Regions from separate parts of the Homo sapiens genome. Here all the other regions are linked to region 2. Evidence: promoter capture Hi-C in 16 types of primary human blood cells and fetal thymus (Javierre and others, 2016). All regions are on one chromosome and are shown on one strand. The core of a region is centred on a gene start or on the middle of the fragment in contact, and the rest is flanking DNA. Distances in the headings are between cores, read along the strand shown. Region 1 has its middle 94 kb from the start of N4BP1. Region 2 holds the start of SIAH1 (siah E3 ubiquitin protein ligase 1). Region 3 has its middle 74 kb from the start of N4BP1.

The links. Contacts are between HindIII fragments. The CHiCAGO score rates a contact against its expected background, and 5 or more counts as called.
Region 1: a fragment that was not itself captured here is called in contact with the fragment with the promoter of SIAH1 in region 2 in 3 of 17 cell types (M2 macrophages, M0 macrophages and neutrophils); the score reaches 6.5 in M2 macrophages.
Region 3: a contact is called between a fragment that was not itself captured here and the fragment with the promoter of SIAH1 in region 2, in 10 of 17 cell types (M0 macrophages, M1 macrophages, M2 macrophages and 7 more). The highest score is 27.0, in M0 macrophages.

Annotation. Positions count from the first base shown.
Region 1 is chr16:48,514,609-48,517,308 of GRCh38, forward strand. No RefSeq gene overlaps it. Among named protein-coding and RNA genes, the nearest start is that of N4BP1, 94 kb to the right of the region's middle. The HindIII fragment of the contact is 2,306 bases long and covers 216-2,521 here.
Region 2 is chr16:48,384,080-48,386,779 of GRCh38, forward strand. It overlaps SIAH1 (siah E3 ubiquitin protein ligase 1), which reads right to left and starts at 1,334. Exons shown (of 2, transcript NM_003031.4): 1 at 1,125-1,334. RefSeq lists silencers at 413-682, 773-842, 943-1,762. The HindIII fragment of the contact is 2,947 bases long and covers 1-1,920 here.
Region 3 is chr16:48,534,932-48,537,721 of GRCh38, forward strand. No RefSeq gene overlaps it. Among named protein-coding and RNA genes, the nearest start is that of N4BP1, 74 kb to the right of the region's middle. RefSeq lists enhancers at 1,404-1,773, 1,804-1,873, 2,634-2,703. The HindIII fragment of the contact is 2,069 bases long and covers 320-2,388 here.

The DNA.
Region 1 (2,700 bases), core at 119-2,618, 130 kb after region 2:
AGCCTGGGTAACAGAGTGAGACACCCTGTCTCAAATAAATAAATGAGTAAATAAATATATAAATAAATAGAGGGAATTTGTTGCCAAAAGGTTTGTCTTGCAAAAAATGTTAAAATAAGTTCTTCAGAGAGAATGAAAATAGTATAGGTCAGAAACACAGATCTACATAAAGAAAGAAAGAGCATCAGGAAATGAATAAGTAGAGGCAAAATAAAAGCTTTTATGTTTTTAATCCATCTATCACATAACAGTTTGCTCAAAAGAGGAACAATGTATTCAATTATGTATGCTGGCGGGGTGCGGTGACTCACACCTGTAATCTCAGCACTTTGGGAGGCTGAGGCTGGCAGATCACCTGAGGTGAGGAGGTTGAGACCATCCTGGCCAACTTGGTGAAACTCCGTCTCTACTAAAAACACAAAAGTTAGCCAGGAAGCGTGGTGGCAGGCGCTTGTAATCCCAGCTACTTGGGAGGCTGCTTGAATCGATTGAACCAGGAGGTGGACGTTGCAGTGAGCCAAGATGGCACCACTGCACTCCAGCCTGGGTGACAGAGTGAGATTCCGTATCAAAAAACAAAAAAAATTATATATGCTTAAACATACATGCTTATGGATGCTTATGTATAGATGAAATGAATGATAACAATGAAACAAGGAACAGGAGAGAGAAATTAGAAATATTTTGTTATTATAAGGCACTTGCACTACCCTTTAAAAGGTGTAGTGTTATTTGAAATCAGGTTTGATTTAGTTTCAAAAGTATATTGATTTGTGTGTGTTTGTTTATAAAGAAAAATTTTTAAAAATGTATATTGCAAGTTTTAAGGCAACCAAGTTTTGAAGTAGAAGTAATATACTAAGCAAGGAGAGAAAATGGTATCCTACAAAATGCCTAATTAAAACCACAAAAGGCAGAGACAGAGTAAAAGACAAAAATAGGAACAAAGAATAAGGGCAGCACATTTTAAAATATGGTGGATAATAATCCAATTACATCAACAATTACTTTGAAAGCCAGTGCTCTAAATGTACCAATTAAGGACAGAGATTGTCACAGTATATCAAAAAATAAGATTCAACTGTAAGTTGTCTACAAAAAACCCACTTTAAATATAAAAACACATATACTTTAAAAGTAAAGAGATAAAGAAAGATATTCCATGCCAATGCACATCATAAGAAAGCAGTAGTTCTATTAATTTCAGACAGAGCTGACTTCAGCAAGGAAAGTGATCAGGAATAAAGAAGGCATTACAGAATGAGGGAGGGCTCAGTTCTCCAAGGCAACAATACTTAATATGTACACGCCTAACAACAGAGCATCGGTGCCTGAGAGGCAAAAACTGACAGACCTTCGAGAAGAAATAACGAACCCACTTTTAAAGTTGGAGATTTTGGCTGGGTGCAGTGGCTCACACCTGTAATCCCAGCACTTTGAGAGGCTGAGGAGGGCAGTTCACCTGAGGTCAGGAGTTTGAGACCAGCCTGGCCAACATGGTGAAACCCTGTCTCTACTAAAAGTACAAAAATTAGCTGGGTGTTGTTGTACGCGCCTGTAATCCCAGCTACTCAGGAGGCTGAGGCAGGAGAATCACTTGAACCCGGGACGCAGAGGTTGCAGTGAGCCAAGATCGCACCACTGCACTCCAGCCTGGGTGACAGAGCAAGACTCCGTCTAAATAAATAAATAAATAAATAAATAAATAAGTTGGAGATTTTAACACCCCTTTAACAGAAATGGACAGATCCAGCAGGCAGAACTCAATAGTACCATTAACAGCTGGTATATTGATCTATAAATGGCCTCACCCAGTGACAGCAGATTACACATTCTTCTGAAGCTCATATGGAATATTCACCAAGACAGACCACATTCAGGGCCATAAAAAACACCTTAAGGCCAGGTGTGATGGCTCACACCTGTAATCCCAGCACTTTGGGAGGCTGAGGCAGGCAGATCACCAGGTCAGGAATTTGAGACCAGCTTGGCCAACATAATGAAACCCTGTCTCTCCTAAAAATGCAAAAATTAGCCATGCATGGTGGCACGCACCTGTAGTCCCAGCTACTTCGGAGGGTGAGGCAGGAGAATCGCTTGAACCCGGGAGGCAGAGGTTGTGGTGAGCCGAGATTGCACCACTGCACTCCAGCCTGGGCGACAGAGCAAGACTCCGTCTCAAAAAAAATAAATAAATAAAAACAAAAAAAATCTTAATACATTTAAAAGAATAGAAACCATCCAATGTCTGGCCTCAGACCACAGTGGAATTAAACTAGAAATCAGTAAGAGAAAGATAGCTAGAAAATTCCCAAATACTTGGGGATTAAACAACACACTTCTGCATAACACAAAGGTCAAAAAAGAACTCTCAAGAAAAATTTAAAAATATTTTGAACTAAGTGAAAATGAGAACACAACTAATCAAAATTGTGTGATGTAGCGAAAGTAGTGTTTAGAGAGAAATTGATAATATTGAATGTATGTATCAAAAAAATAGAGATCTAAAATCAACAATTTAAGCTTCCCCTTTAGGAAACTAGAAAAAAAAATTAATTTACACAAAGCAATTTTACACAATTATTTGTGTAATTAATTTACACAAATTTGTGTAATTTGTGTAATTAATTTACACAAATTAAATTTACACAAAACAGAAGAAAAGAAATAATAAAAACCAAAGTAAAACTCAATGAAATT
Region 2 (2,700 bases), core at 84-2,583:
CAGGATTTGACCCAAAGCAGACAGTCGGACTTCACAGCCCGTGCTCTCAACATCCAACTGCTGAAGAGTTAACAATTTACCCTTGACAGCCGCTATAAGCAAAGGTAAATGCTCAACTGCTAGGAAGGGACAGTCAGAACACCGTCCCATATCCAGTATCCATGTCTCTCTGTTTGTTTATGGCCTCTATGACTTTGGCAAAAGAAGTACACACAATCTGATTTTCCGAACACCCAAGCTGGACTTTTCTGAATGTCCGAGCAAACAAATTATGTATCTTTCCAGGAACGGGCAGACAGCGAAAACGAACCTACGCATCGGAGTGGCCCAGGTTATTCACTTTAAGTTATAAATTTGGGAGAGTTAAGAAAGGACCCCAAACTACCCGGCAAATGAACCCTAGGAAATGCCAGGTTTATAATAAGCTAGAGCTTCCCCGGCACGCCGTTCACGCGCTCTCCTCTCTAACGACATAAACAAGGGAGGAGGCTGCATTCTTCCCACTGCACAATGAAGCCTCCGGCCGAAGCGGCAGGAAGAGCGCAGCCCCGTCCCGGACGGCTCCAGCCGGGGGTCGGGGGCAGAGAGCGGAGGCCGAGGCCCGCCGAGCGGCGCGGTGCGGCCCGGGCCTCCGGGCGCCGCGGGGAGGAGGGGGAGGGAGGGCAGGGCCCCGGCAGCTGCCCGCACTCAGCTGACCTCCGCCATGTTGGCCGCACACCCCGGGACCCTCCACAACAAAGGCCGGCACGAGGGCGCGGGGCGCGCCGGGCGCCACCCCCGGCCGGGCCCGCCTCCCGGGCGCGCGGGGGCCGGGCCGCCGCCGAGGCCCTTCCCCCGCCCTCGGCCCGGCCGCGCGGGGCCGACCCCCGCCGCCACCCCGCCGGGCCCGGGGCTCCAGGGGCGGGGGCGAGCCGGCTTGCGAAGGCTGAAGGCAGGGGAGGGGCGGGGGGCGGCGCTCGACCGGGCGGCCCGACTCCGGCCGAGACAAAGGCGCCGCCGCGCCGACTACTGCCCGCGCCCCGGCCGGGCCGCCCTTCCCGCCCTCCGCCATTACCGGGCCTGGGCGCCCGCCTGTCGGAGAGCCCCTCGCCGCCGGCTCCTCCCTCAGGCCGGGCCCCACTTACCTGTGGGCGGAGAGCGCGCCTCGGACCCCGGTCCTGGCACCAACGCGCTCCGTCGCCAACCCCCGCCACCGCGGGCAGCGCCACCGCCTCTTCCCGGCGCCGAGACCGACGGGACACCCTGGGCCGCCGCCGCCTCTCGAGAGCGCGCCCCGCAACGGCCGCCCCGGCTCCCCCCTGGCCGCCGCCGCCGCCGCCGTTTCGCGCGTCCTCGAGCCCGCCGCGCGCCCCCGCTAAATACCACACACTGCGGCGGCGGCCATGAGGAGGCGCGGCCCCGCGCGCTGGGAGCCTGGGGGGGCGGGGCTTTCGCGGGCGCGCAGGCGCACAGGCGTTGGCGCGGCCGGCGGCGGCCTCCGCGGGCGTAGCTGTGCGGGTCTCCAAAGGCGGCAGTAGGTGCGGGGGCTACTCGGCTACCGTTGCTGCGCCCGTGCACCGCGCATTCAACGGATCCTGGCACGTGGCGCTCTGGCCCGCGAGAAGCTAGCGCTTGCCCGTCGGCTCAGGGCAGCTCCTCCCGCGGCGCTTTGTTCCGGGGCCGCGTGACCCCCCCGGCTCCGGCCGGAGGGGTCGCCCAGCGGGATGCGAGCCCCAGGCTGGCCGCCGCCGCGGCCTTGTGCCCTCCCCCTTGTTTTGTCTGCTGATTTAGCCCAGCGCCTCCACGGATCCTTCCCAACTCCACTCAGTCCCAAAGAAAAAGCGGCTGCCCTGCCCGCCGACCGGGACCCCACCCCTAAAGAGAGTCCCAGCCTCTCCCGAGGTTGAGCCGCTCCTCAGCAACAGCGGGACGAGCTTCAAAAGCTTGTTTCAGCTGAAAAGTGGGTAATGGGGAAGCACGCGTTTTCCTGTGTCCATGCTCATCTGGAAAGTCCCTAATTAGGGACTCTGCATTCCACTTCTTGAAATAATAAAAGGAAAACATCACTTGCAATTCTTTGATGGGTGCTATGAGCAGAAGCAAGCATCTGAGACATTTACAAGCCCTAACTGGAATTCCATGTAAGATCTATTAAAATGGTATTCCGTCCGGACGCGGTGGCTCACGCCTGTAATCCCAGCACTTAGGGAGGCCGAGGCCGATGGATTACCTGAGGTCAGGAGTTCGAGAGTAGCCTGGCCAACATGGTGAAACCCTATCTCTACTAAAAATACAAAAATTAGCCGGGCGTGGTGGTGCACGCCTGTAGTCCCAGCTACTCGGAGGCTGAGGCAGGAGAATCGCTTGAACCCGGGAGGCAGAGGTTGCAGTGAGGCAGAGATCAGGCCATTGCACTCCAGCCTGGACAACAGAGCGAGACTCTGTCTCAAAAAAATAAAAATAAAAATAGAAAAATCCCATACCGGGCACGTATGTACAAATTCCCAGTGTATGATAAAGTTTATATGTGCAAAACACTAGTTTACAGTATTCCTAATTACATGATTTAAACTGCAATTTTACTTTCACATTTTTGGGGAGAAGTTATAGCTCCTCAGTACACGGGAAGGTCAATAGAGTTCGGTTCACTTCAGTTTAGAGGTAAATTTTCCATTTTTACAGACTATGTGCTTGGCATAGCCATGTGGCCTTGACCTGGTC
Region 3 (2,790 bases), core at 104-2,603, 150 kb after region 2:
CAGACAACTAGAAAAGGCTCACAGGGAAAAGAAACTCATCTTCAGGGGAGGCAGTGGAAAGAACAAATGTGGGAATAAGACCTGGACTCAGTCCTGCCTTACCGAACAGCTGATGGCCATGGGCAACCCAAGCTAGCTGGGCCTCTGTCCACACTGCAACTGTGAAACGAGGGCTCTCCACTGGGTGGCCTCCTCCTTCCCTTCTCAGCGGTGTGGCTGGCCCTGCTGGGCTCTCAGGTCCCTGGTGCCTGTGGGATGGTGACCAGGGTTTGCAGGGAGTGCACAGTGGGGAGGATGAAGGCGCTGCTTTGTGGAAAGAAGCTTGCAAGCTCAATGGGTACCAGCTGCTCTCCTCCCTCTTGTGCAGAAATTGTCCCCACATGTAATTAAGCCAGCTTCTGTCAGGAGGTGAGGACACACAGTGGGGCCAGGTCGGGAGAAACACCTGATGCCAATGCCAGCCCCACTGGTACTCAGGAACCAGGAGGGAGCCGGAGGGGTCCTGGCCTCCCCTGCTCCGTGCCCCACTCTGTGTCCTGCCTCTGTAGGGCCTGGGATTTGAAAACCACCAAAGGTCAGATGAGGCCCTGAGGGACCCTCGCTGGAGCCACATGTATTCTAGGGAACACTCACCGGCCTGGGTGCAAAGGTGCCTTCCTCACCGTGGGACTCAGGATGGGAAGGACTCTCCCAGGAGCCAGGCCCGTTTCTTAGGATTCAGTCCTGGTTGCAACCATTGCAACTACTCTTTAGTAGGGAGGTGTTTCTCAACCATGAGGGCACGCCGGGTCACTTGGGATTACCAGAAAACGTGGATGTCAGATTCTGATCTCTAGGGTCTGGGGTGTGGCCTGGGCAGCGCTGCCCCTGGGGATCCCAGTGCACAGCCAGGGTCACAGACCACCAGCTCTGAGGGCAGCAGCACTAGCCCTTGACAGATGAGGGCCCGAGGCCTTGAGAGGCTGCGTAACTTTCTCAAGGTCACGGAGAATAAGTGCAGGAGCAGGTGATGCCCTCACTCCACGGGCTGGCTGGGCATGAGGCCTTCAGAAGAAGGGCCATTCTGGTTGTTCTCTCCCTTCCCTGGCACTGTCCCCTGCATGAAGTGGCTGCTCAAGACCAGGGATGGAGGAACCCTGGAGGGGCTGGGAAGGTGCAGCATCCGGAGGGGATGAGGGGTTTGGGCCCCACCCCTCACCGGCTGGGCCTCATGTCCCTTAGCCACACAGTGGGAAGAAGTAAGGGTTCCCAGCCCTTCTCAGAGTGGAGGTGTGACATGCCAGGGATCCTGAGGGGCTGGCAAGGGGAGAGGGTCCTGCTGGCATTGAGAGACACCCTGGTTTGGGGGAAGTCCCCTGAGCAAGCCCACGTGCGCAGCTGCTAGGGGCAGGCTGCGGGAGGCCCTCTTCTTCCTGCTGCCTGTTTTGGTGGCTGAAACTTTAGACTGATCCAGGAGCCAGACAGGCGGGCAGACAAGCGCATTCTTTTTGGGGGAGGCCGCCGCCTCCTCTTCTCGCTAGAAGCAGGGAGGAGGGGAGGACAGGGCCTGCCCAGGCCTGACCCCAGACTGGGTTTCAGGCTGTGGGGCCAAGCAGGGCTCCCTGGGGACTCGGGGCTGGGGAAGGAAAGCCCCAAAGGCTGGAGTCTGCGGTTTGGAGTCCTGTGACTCTGGGAGCTGAAGCCACCAGGCAGGAGGGGGTGAAAGGGGGCTGGTTTAAGAAGCCCTAAGCCTCTGGGCTTTTGGCTCCAGCACTGGCTGTGGGTACTTCTGCTCTGTTTCTGGGCAAATCCCTGCCTGCCCAGTCCATTTCCCCAGTGAATGCCCCCAGCCCTGGCATCCTCGGTGTGTAGGGGATTGGAACCTGAGCCGGGAAAAAGGCCACGTACAGTTTCCAATCAACATCAACTCATCTGTGTTTCCCGAAATGAAGTGCAAGGTGGCTCTGATGCATACATGGGCTCACTCCTGACACAGCTTCTGCAGAACTGGTCAACTTCTTTAAAAAAATATGCTCTTGGCATCCTCTCGCAGGAACAGGGCTGGATACGGGCCCACCAAGCAGGAAGTGGGGAGGCAGCTTCCTTCCGCAGCCTCCCTGTGCCCTGAAGACTGACAGCCTTGACCCAGGTCTGTCATGGGCCCTCAATTCTTTTCCTTGAAGGGTGGAGGTATCTTAGGTGCCATACCAGCTGCTGAGTCACCTCTGGTGCAGCTTTGCCTTTCAGGGAGGTGGGATGGCCCATTGGAATTCAAATCCTAAATCCTGGACATCTTAGCTTGAAGAAATGGAAGTTCCTGAGCATCTCTGTACCTCAGTTTCCTCCTCTGCAAAATGGAGATAATAACAGCAGCACTTTAGGAGTGAGGTGAGGATTAAAGGAGACAGAAGCTTGCCGGGCACATGGGTGGTGAGGGCACGACACTGGTTGCCGGCCTCAGCTTTCTCAGCACCCTGCAGGCAGGCAGTGGCTGTGCTCACTTCCTCCGGGTGCTCTCTCTGGTGACGGCACCCGAGGGACTCTCCCAAGTGCCTGCCTTGTTCAAGGAACAATGCCCTCTCTAGAACAGCTGGACTTCCCATGGCCCTGCTGAGGCACTGAAAGAAATGTAGGCCCTAACCTAAGCACCCTCATCATTGGACCACAGGGATAAAGGAGTGCGTTCAGAACCTGGAGGATGACGGCTTAGCACTTGGAGATAAGACCTGGCTGGTGGGGGTGTGGGATGACCTGGAAGGGTGGCGAATAGTTAGGTAGGTGTCCGCAGGGCTGCTGATCAGAGCCCCAGTA